Linked DNA regions of Homo sapiens: region 2 is linked to region 1. Evidence: promoter capture Hi-C in 16 types of primary human blood cells and fetal thymus (Javierre and others, 2016). All regions are on one chromosome and are shown on one strand. The core of a region is centred on a gene start or on the middle of the fragment in contact, and the rest is flanking DNA. Distances in the headings are between cores, read along the strand shown.

Region 1 (4,962 bases), core at 363-2,862:
GCCAGGGAGTCCGGGGCTGCGTGTGAGGCCTGCGCGGGCCGAGACCTCACACAGCCTCCTCTGCGCGCGGGGCCGCGGGAGGGGCGCGGGTTCGTTCCTTTGAACTCCCAGCCTTTGTTCCCGGCCACCAGAGCCCCAGCGCTCGTACACTTCCGGCCCCGGGACCTCTGCGGTTACCTGGGCCTTCCCTGCCAGCCCCCACCCCCTGCCCCCACCAGAAAGCGTTTACAGGACAGGTGAGGCCCGCAGGAGGAAAAGCACTCCCCTGGCGCAACATGACTCCAGCGCATCTGCGTCTAAGCCACACCGTGCTCCTGGTAGATTAAAAATTAATTCTAAAAAAAAAATCTCTCCTATCCCAAATGCACTGTTTTCTGCCTTGCTTGACAATTGATTTGTTTTTAAAGGAAAGTTATGGGTAGATCCTCTTTTTTCTTTCCCATTCTTTTTTTCTTCTTTTATACTGGAGGGAGGGAAACGGAGGCGAGGACCACACACGCGCAGGCAGAGGCTGAAAAGGCCCGAGGTGGGTTTTCCTGTTTAATATCAAAGGAGGCCGAATAATGGGTTTCCTCGGTCCGGCTAGGCCGGCCTTTGACTCAATTGGAAATGCAAAGGCAGCTTTTGCCTATTCTCTGGCTGCTGGCTGAGACCCTAAATTTCCGTAGGAAATCGTCGGACATGCACTTAATCGGTCTTTGCAATCTTTCCCTCGAAGTTGCACGCGGGTCTGGGCGGAGGAGGCGAGGAAACCCTGGATTCGAACCAGCGCCTTTCTCTCCTTCAGGCCTCCGCCCGGGGACAGGCGCCGGTCCCCCGCCCCGGCGCATCCGCCCCGTGGGGACACTTACCAGCCCCTGCATCTTGCCGTCGGCGCCCATGCAGAGGTACCGCACGCTGTGCACGCCCTTGATGGCCACGGTCCGCAGAGCGACTGCCTTGATCTCCAGCAAACCTAGGCGCAGGGGAAGCGAGAAGCTGCAGCAAGGACCGCTGGGCCCGCACCACGTGGGTGCGGTCGGTCCACAAGCCTGTGCTTCTCCCTAGCGTCCCGCGCTGTTTGGGGACTAACGGAGGGATCCTAACGTCCAGGTGCCAAAACCTGGGGTTCCCAGGAGTTGAGGGGTCCGCAGGAGCCTAAGGGTGGCAAAGGAAGGAAGGGCGCTGGGGTGGGGCGCGCGCAGCGGGGTGGGGTGCGCGCGGCGGGGCGGGCGGGGGTGCTGGCGGGCACTCACTGTGCGCGCTCTGGCCCCGCGCGCAGTCCACGACGCCGTCGGCACGGATGCGCAGGAAGCAGCTGGAGAGCCCGTGGGGGCCGGAGGTGTACAGGTGCCGCAGGCGGATGGGGTCGCCCCAGCCGTAGTGCACGTGGGGCCCCGCGTCCGAGAAGGCGAGGGGGCGCCCGGCCACGGCCAGCCAGAGGCCGGCCAGGATCCATACGTGGACCACCACACACCCGCTCCGCATGGCACCTCCCTGGGGCTCTCGGCGCAGCTCCGGCGATGGGGGTGCGGGAGGCTGGGCGGCGACCGGGATGCGCTGCGGGGCTGTGAGTGCCGGGTTGGGATGGTCGTGGCCCTAGATCCTGGACGCAGCGCTCCTGCTCTGACGGCGCGGCGGCTCCGGGCCGGCAGCCTTATATAGTAGCGCCTTACGGGCCCCACGGGTAGGTGCCCAAGACACCCGAGCATTTCTTATCGGGATTGCATCAAGCCTCCGCCCCCCGCACACACCCACTCACACCCCGCCTCCGGCCCCAGCCCCAGCCCCCTCCCCGGGCCCGGGCAGGCAGGCGGCGGCTTCTTGTCCCAGCCGGGGTGACCCCGCCCAGGCCGTTCGGATCTGCGGGAGGAGGAGGCCTCGCTTAGCGGCCGGGTTTCGGGGAACTCCTCCCCACCGCGCAGCGGCCCCGAGGTTCTTGGCTGGGAGAGTTTGACTTTGTAAAGCAATCGACAACTGGGGCCCTTCCCCCAGGCCTCAGGCTCCCAGTGGATGCACTCGGCGTGGGGCACTAGCGGGGGCGGGGTCAGGAACCCCGGGGCCAGAGGTTGGGGGGCACCGAGTTTTGCCCCCTTCACCCTCTGTCGGGAAAAGCCTCACCTCGGCCTTAGTGCCCTTCCCCTTAAAAGCCCACTCGCACTCCCTCCCCCGACTTTCGCAGCCCCGCACATCTGACGTCAAAGCCGTCCCGTAGAATTTTCCCCGGCAGTTCCGACAGTCTCAGGTTCTTTCAGCTTCATCTTCTTGCAATTCCTGCCCCGCCCCTTTTATCCGGGTAAATTGCCCCCCGACGGGGGGCCGGGCGCGCTCTCGGCCGGCGGGGAAACAATGGAAGCCGCGCGGACTGTAGGTGGCGCCGCAGCCTCGGCGTCCGCCTGGGCTTTGCGCTCCTGGCCCCGCGCCCCTGCCTGCTCCGCGCTCGCCCCGGCCCCGCGGCTGTGCGCGAGATGCAACCTGAAAGGGGGCACTGGGAAGGAGGCTCTCGGGCAGGGTGGGCGGGCCAGCTGCGGGATTGGTGAACCCCAGCTTCTCGGCTGGAGGGTGGTGGAGGCAGGGGCGCAGGGAGGGAGGCCTGGGCCTCCGTTTCCCGTTTTTTGAGCTGTCTTGTGTCGGGGGTCTGGTTTTTGAGTCCCCGAGTCCCTGCGCACGGGGTCAGGAGGAACAGCACGGTCGGGGAGGTCGAGAGCGCCTTACCTGGTGGGGAGGGGTCGGGAAGGGGCCCAGGAACGGTGATGGGCGCCCCTGGCGTCCGGGCAGGTGCCAGGTGAGGAAAGAAATGGGGGCCGCTCCATGAAGCGGTTCCTGCCAATAAAGAAAACGACATCCAGAGAATACCCAGGCGGGGAATAAAGGGGTCCTCCTACGGGGCTTTGGTTTAACTCTAATTATTTCTTGTTATTCTTCCAAACCCCCAGCTCCTGGATGTGGGGCCCCAGGAGGCTGGTTTTGGGGGCAGAGCCCTCCTGGCCCAGCGCAAAGGCGATGGGGAGGGCAAACAGGAGAGACAGCGAGAGAAATGCCAGGCCTAATGAATTTCAATGAGCAGAGGCCACATTCATTCCCCAGTCAGTGACTGGCGTTAATGACTGAGGGCGCAGCAAATGTCACCAGGAAAGTCTTTACAAAAAGACATCATCCCGAAGGCTTTCTAGACCAGGGACCCCCACGCTGTGTGTCTTGGTTCAGAAAGCCGTGGCTTCTGTTAAATCTAATTACTTCCCCCCTGTGGCTTTAAATCGACGGCGGCTCCTATTAAACTTAATTACCCTCCCCTGCAGCTTTCGTTTTAAAGATCCGTGGTAAATGCGTGATAAATGCTCTTGAGGGCGATGGCAGAGGCTGCACTGGGGGACACGACCCAAACCGGGTGGGGGCGATGGCAGCCTCTGGTTCCACCCCTACCCCTCTGCAGCCCCTTCCAGGGACATGGGGAAGAGAGTGGCTGATGCGATCAGGGAGGTGGGGAAATGAGGAAGGCGGCTGCTGTCCCCCAGCCCCTGTTCTGAGCGCTTCATGGAGGTTCTCAGCTCAAATCTCCACAAGAGCCCCCACAGTATTCTATTCCTCCCTCCCCCATGGAGCAGGAGGGAAATGGCCCCAGAAAAGTGGCCGAGTAACCCAAGGTCGCACACTCTGTTAGTGGTGAAGTTGGAATTTGAACCCAAACAGTGGGGCTCGTAAATCCAGGCTGTGCTGCGTCTTATCCCGGGACAGGGGCTCCGGGGTCAGACCCACTGTAGCATGGATCACACCCGGCCACTCCCTGGGTAGGTCGTGGACCGCTGACCCATTGCCCTCTCAGCTTGCTCTCAGGCTTGTCCTGAGGGTGACAAGGAAGAGGGGACAGAGAGGGCCTGGGATGTAGCACTCATGAAGGTGTTGATGGCAGGCCTTGAGGTCAGCTGTGTGCCGGCCATCTCACAGGCACAGCAATGCTCTGAGAGCTTAGGGGATGGATCCTGCTCATGTGAGGTAGCTGACGGTTACAGAGATGGACTGCCGGGCCTCGAGGGTTTGCCCCAGGTGGGCCAGGCACACGATCTTGGGTGTTTGCTGGGCTCCCTGGTGTGTGTGGTTAGAGGGAGCCAAGCCTGCAGAGGACAAGGCAGTGCTGGCCAGCAAGGGGCTCTCCTGGCGAGAGCAGAGGTGTGGCAAGGGCTGAGGTCCTCCTCCCACTCTGTTCTGTGCACACCGGGACCTCTGAAGCCACCTGTGTGCTGCATTGGGCTGACTTTGCTTTTCAGGTTGTGTTTGATTTGCCCCTGGGTGGCTAAGCCGGCTGAATCGCCCAGGTGGGGTTTCATTCATTGAATGGCATGGGCAATGGGTAGCAGGTAGGGTCCAAGGCACCTGGATGTCCCGCTCACCCATGCAGGGGTATGGGGGTCTCCAGCCCAGGTGTCCAGAAGGGCTTGGCTTGGCTTTGTTCTGGATTTGATGTTAGCTTTTTTTTTTTAATTCATTTTTTATTTTTTTATTTAATTGCCCTGTAGAACCGTAAATCCTTTTTCTGGAGTCTTCCTTCTTCCATCTGAGGGTGTAGAGGTTCCTTCTTCCTGATTATGGCAAATGAGTGATTTCCACCATTTCTAAACCCGTGTCCCAGTGTCTAAGAACATCTTATTCGGCTTCACCTCCAATTTTTACATTATGAAAATCATAGTTTTCCTTTCATTTTACAGTTAGAAATGTATGTTTTGCTGTCAAATGTGCATTCTTCTACATAAGCACTCCCTAGAGCCCCTCCCAAACCCCCTGCTCCCACCTTGTGATTGAAAATTATTTTGTAATTGGAGAAACTTCTGGGTGTGGTAAAAGTCTTTATCAGAAAATAAGAACTGCAGGGTAGCGTGGGACCGAGAGAGCTGTGAACACTGAGGTGATCGAGGCCACGCCCCACAGCTGGTTCCTGGCCAACTGGAGGCTGAGACCCAGGGACTCCTGAATCTCAGCCCAGTATTT
Region 2 (4,883 bases), core at 274-2,773, 71 kb after region 1:
AGGGGCCCACTCAGGGATGGCAGGAACCTCATTGTTCCTGCCTTGGGGCTGCTTCCTTTGTCTGGGGAGGCCTGCCGGTCCCGTGACCTGGTGACCCTGCCACCCCTCCAAGACCCAGGCACAGGTGGGGCTGGAGAAGCCACGAGCCTGCTAGCCATGTCCGCTGTTCCCAACTAGGTGCCTAGCCAGACCCCTGCGGTACTCACCGAGCCATAGAGCTTGCCCTTGCTGCTCATGGCCACGAAGAACCGGCTGGCCACGCCGAAGATGCTCACCACGCCCCGCTCCACGGGCGAGAGCTCCAGCAGGCCTGGGGGCGGGGCGCAGGTCATTGCGGGGCAGGTGATCCCTGGCCCACTCCGCCCCTCGGCTTGTTCGCCTCCGGGGACCCTATTTCTGGGGTGGGGTTGGGGATAAAGGGCCAGGGTTCCCGGCGCAGCCGCCCCCAAGGGCCTCCAGAGCCCAAGCTGCCCTCTAGGGCCTCCGGAGCCCAAGCCTGCGCTAGCTCAGATTAGCTTGCCTGTGTAGGGGACCCCCGGCGGCCGCACCCAGTCCCGGACCTTCAGACGCGAGCCCGACCCCAGCGGTTCCCCAGCCTGGGCCAGGCCGGGGCGCGTGTCTCGGGCCCCCTGTGGCTGCACCGCGCGCCCTGTGCCCACGGGCGAAGGCGCTGGAATTCGGCGCTCGGAGCCCGAGTTTCTGAAGGCGGGAGGCGGCGCCCGACCTCAGGGGTTGCGCTGGGCTGCCGGAGCCAAGAGTGTCTGCGTCCCCAGCCCCGCGTCAGAAGGGACCGGAGCCCGAGTCCGCCCCGGTTCCCGGGGCCCCCGAGCAGGTGCCCGCCGAGGGTCTCAGAGTGTGACTGAGCGGGTTGGCCCGGCGGCCGTTGCCCCCCGCCCCCGCCCCTTCGCGCCTGGCCGCGCCACTCACTGTCGCGGGTGTCCGCGTGCGCGCCGCCGATGCGGCCGTCGGGGAGCGCCTGGAGGTGGAAGCCGATGCCCACGTTGCAGTAGAGCCGCCGCAGCCGCTTGATGCCCAGCAGGTAGTCGCCGGCGCCGCTCTGGACGGCCGCCTCCTTGGGCTGCGCTGCCACCGGCAGGCGCGCCAACGAGAGCGCCACCAGGCTCTCCCAGCGGCGCTCCAGCTCGGCCTCCAGCGTGCCGTTGGGTGCAGTGGGTGCGGCGGCGCCCCCTCGGCCCGCCCAGGGCGCCAGCAAGGCCAGCAGGACCGCCGGGAGCAGCGCTACCGCGGCCGTCCCGGGCCCCGACATCCCGGCCCGAGGGCCGTGCGTCGGTCAGGCGGTCAGTGCGCCCGGGAAGCTGGGGGGCAGAGCTGCGCCTGTGGCGTCCCGCGGGAGCGCACGGCCGACCTCGGGCAGGAGTGCGCAACCGAGGAGGTGCGGGAGGCAAGCGACGGGGCCCCCGGGCGCCGGGCTCTACCCCGGCTGCATGGAGCGGCGAGCCGGGCGGAAAGCGCGCGGCTGGAGCTGGGACTCTGAGGAGCAGTGCGCGCCTCCCTGAGCGCCAGGCCCGCCCGAGGCCGAGCCGCTATATATATAGCCCGGCGCCCCCTCCTACTCGCCCGCTCCCGCGGGGGGCCGTTCGCGTTCTCCTGGGCGCCCGGGGCGCTGTGGCGTTCGCGGCTGGTCGCAGGCCGCCTGCCAATCAGGGCCGGGGGAAGGGAGGAGGCTGGGGACTAGCGCCGCGAGTGCCACCTGGAGGGACCCCGGCCCCCACCCTTGGCTCCGCCCGGCCCACGGACCTGTTCGTCCCGCCCCTTGGCGGCTCCTACACTTCTGCTTTTCAGCCAGTTTTGCCTCTTGCACTTTGTCCCTGCCTGTCCCCGTCCCCGTCTCCCTCTCTGCTCCGGCCGCCTTGGCGCAGCCCTAACTCGGGCATCCGAAGCTCCTAGTGGGCGCAGAAGCCAGCGGCTGCTGCCTGCCCTTCGCCTTTCGGAGGCTCACGGGAACTTGGTTCCTTTGCTGGGGCCTTGAGGACCGGCCTGGGAAGGAGGGGTGGATAAGAGCAGTAAGCGACACCGGGGCCTGGCTGGGCAAGGGAGGACCCTTTGGCTACAGGCGGGAGGGAGGCCACCCCCACCCCCTAGGTCTTGGCCCCACAGGCTTGGCGCGTTTCTGGGCTGGAGTTCTGAATACCTGGTGGAGGTCCACCTGAGCCAAAGGGCAAGGTGGCAGAGATGCACCCAGGGAGGCCTGGTCCTGCACCCCCTACACACACACCCTTCCGTGAAAGGACAGGTAGCAGGGCATAGGGCCAGAGGGGATATTCAGCATCCCCTGCTCCTTTGATTCCACAGCAGAAATATCCATGTACCATAGCCAGAGCCCTCAATCTAGCAGGGACCCAGGCCAGGCCTCTGGAAGCCTCCCCTCTCTCACTCATGGTTCTACCTCCCACTGTGCCCATTATGGCCTGATGGGGACTGTCCTAGCTAGATGCAGGCCCACCTAGGTGTGAAAACCCCTGTTCTTTGTGGTCCCTGAGGAGCCTGCCTGGCCCTTCCTGCAGGCCCGCCTAGCCACAGCTGCAGGGGGCTTGGTGCCTACCCCATCTCTCATACCACCAGCACCTGTGACCAGAGATGTCCCCAGGCCACCGCAGCCTCCTCCACCTCCACCGCATCCCCACAGGGAGATTCCTGGGACCCCTTCAGAACCCTGCTGGGGCTTATTCGTGCCCCTGGAGGGGACCTGGGAGGCTTGAGGGCTCTTCTCTGAGGTGCAGAAAGGGGGGCACTTGGGGGTCATCAAGTGGCTTTGGCAGGACCGGAACCTCAGCTCCGCACCCCTTGAGAGGATCTTTGTTCCTCCTTGGGCCTGCAGCCTGCTTGGGCAGCGCCACCCAGACCTGGACCTTCCTGGGCTGCAGCTCACAGCTTCGAGATGCAACCCGGCTGCCTCTGGGTCCTGGGGTCCCCCAGATGAGCCTGCAGATCTGGTGCCAAATAGACATCGTTGGCCAGGGTGCAGGGTGCAGGGTGCAGGGGACCTAGAACCCATCCCTCACTTGCTGTGTTGTCTTTCCATCTCTAGGTCCCTGACTCCCCATTTGCAAAATGACATGGGAGGTGGGCTTTCCTCCCTCAGCCTGGGGCCAACCGAACACACCCTCTGGGGAAGTGAGACCCAGGCCTGGAGACCCACCTGTGCCAGCTGACCTGAGCAGAGGGACTCTGATGTCTTCCCCCGGCTTTTGATAGGATGAGGCTCCTTTCTTCCCAGGACTCCCACAGCAAGCTCAATTTAGGGCTTCCCAAGGACCCCTCCCTGTCTCTCCTATTTGCTGTGAGTTCAGCAAAGGACGCTGCAGGCAGCTGATATATCTCCCAGAACTGCAGGCCCACCCACACAGGATAGGTGCTTGTGGTGACTGGGGACTGACAGCCAGCAGGGCTTTTGGGAGCTGGGAATTCCCAGCAGAACTGATCTGGAATCTGGCTTCCACTTTGCTCCGGGTGCTCCCTGAGCACACTCTCAACCTCCGCAGGCCCTGGCCTCCTCAGCTGTGCAATGGAGGCAACAAAAGCACAGGTAAGGAAGAATTGCGGATGAAGGATGCACCAGGAAGCACTCACTTATCTGCATCTGACCCCTTTCCGTGCCCCTGGCCCTTGACCTGGCTTCCCACCTGCTTCCTTTCTGCTCCTGTGTTCCCGCCATGCTGACCGCGTCATCTCTCCCCTTCCCACTGGATGACCCCCGGCCCCAGATCTTCCTGCCAATGACTTATCCCATTCAGGTTTGCCTGAATGGAGAAGCCACTCCATTGGAGTAGCCACTCGGGGATGCCTTCTGGATCCCCTGCCCAGTCCTTCTGGTTGGAGCTTCTTTGAGCTCTTAAGAGAACCTTCTGCACTTGTTAGCTGACCCTCCACCGCATTTAGATTGTCATCTCCATGGAGCAAGCCCGGATTTGTGTTGTTGCCAGTTGTACCTCCAGTGCTGGGCACATAGTAGGTGCTCAATAGCTGTTTGTGAGTAAATGGCTGGCTAGGTACACTAGGAGCTCATCCATCAGCAATCCTCACTGCAAGCTGCCCTGCCCAATCTGCCACTGTGCCCCGGGGCAGACAAACAGAGGTACCTGCAAAGGCCTCAGGCAGAGCTGCCCCTATGGGAAGGTCTGCATTGCCTTTTTTTTTCTTTATGTGAAAGAAATAGTTGGACCAAGGTGACTAAATCTTTTCCAGATCTGGTTACTTCTCAGCAGAGAGACAAGGGGACCTATATATAATTTTTTTTTTTTTTTTGAGATAGTATCTTGCTCCATTGCCCAGGCTAAAGTGCAGTGGCTCTATCATAGCTCTACAGCCTCAAACTTCCAGGCTTAAGCAATCCTCCAGCCTCAGTCTCCTGAGTAGCTGGGACTACACACTCAGCTAATTTTTTGTTTTCTTTTTTAGTAGAGACGAGGTCTCGCTGTATTGCCCGGGCTGGACTCAAACTTTTGACCTCAAGCAATCCTCCCGCCTCAGCCTCCCAAAGTGCTGGGATTACAGGCATGAGCCACTGCACCTGGCCAGGTGATCTAGAAACAGGACCCTCACTTAGCTTGGACCCAAAGCCCTTCTGCCATGCTTTACCCCAGGACGCCCGCTTTGCCAAGTCCTGGGGTTCGAGGAAGGCTTGGGGCCATGTTGGGCTTCCGGTTGGGTTCAAGTTTAGGCTGTCTCCCTGTTAGTTGTATAACCTTACGCTATTTCACTTCTTAGCATTCTCAGTTTCCCCATCTGTAAAATGGGCATGAGCTGATGTCGGCCTTAGCAAGACAGTGCCTGACCTCAGGAAGAGGCTGAGCAAAGTGAGCTGTTTAGACTGCAAGCCCCTTGGGGGTGGTTCAAACTGGGTCTGATTAACAGTAAATGCT

What was found. Contacts are between HindIII fragments. The CHiCAGO score rates a contact against its expected background, and 5 or more counts as called.
Region 2: the fragment with the promoter of FGF4 here is called in contact with the fragment with the promoter of FGF19 in region 1 in 1 of 17 cell types (endothelial precursors); the score reaches 5.0 in endothelial precursors.

Annotation. Positions count from the first base shown.
Region 1 is chr11:69,702,410-69,707,371 of GRCh38, forward strand. FGF19 (fibroblast growth factor 19) reads right to left here and starts at 1,613. Exons shown (of 3, transcript NM_005117.3): 1 at 1,236-1,613; 2 at 852-955. The coding sequence starts at 1,467. RefSeq lists a promoter at 1,686-3,883 and enhancers at 3,022-3,384, 3,924-4,553. The HindIII fragment of the contact is 32,821 bases long and covers 1-4,962 here.
Region 2 is chr11:69,773,818-69,778,700 of GRCh38, forward strand. It overlaps FGF4 (fibroblast growth factor 4), which reads right to left and starts at 1,524. Exons shown (of 3, transcript NM_002007.4): 1 at 928-1,524; 2 at 207-310. The coding sequence starts at 1,267. RefSeq lists enhancers at 1-423, 2,273-3,196 and promoters at 1,413-2,525, 1,413-1,808. The HindIII fragment of the contact is 22,710 bases long and covers 1-4,883 here.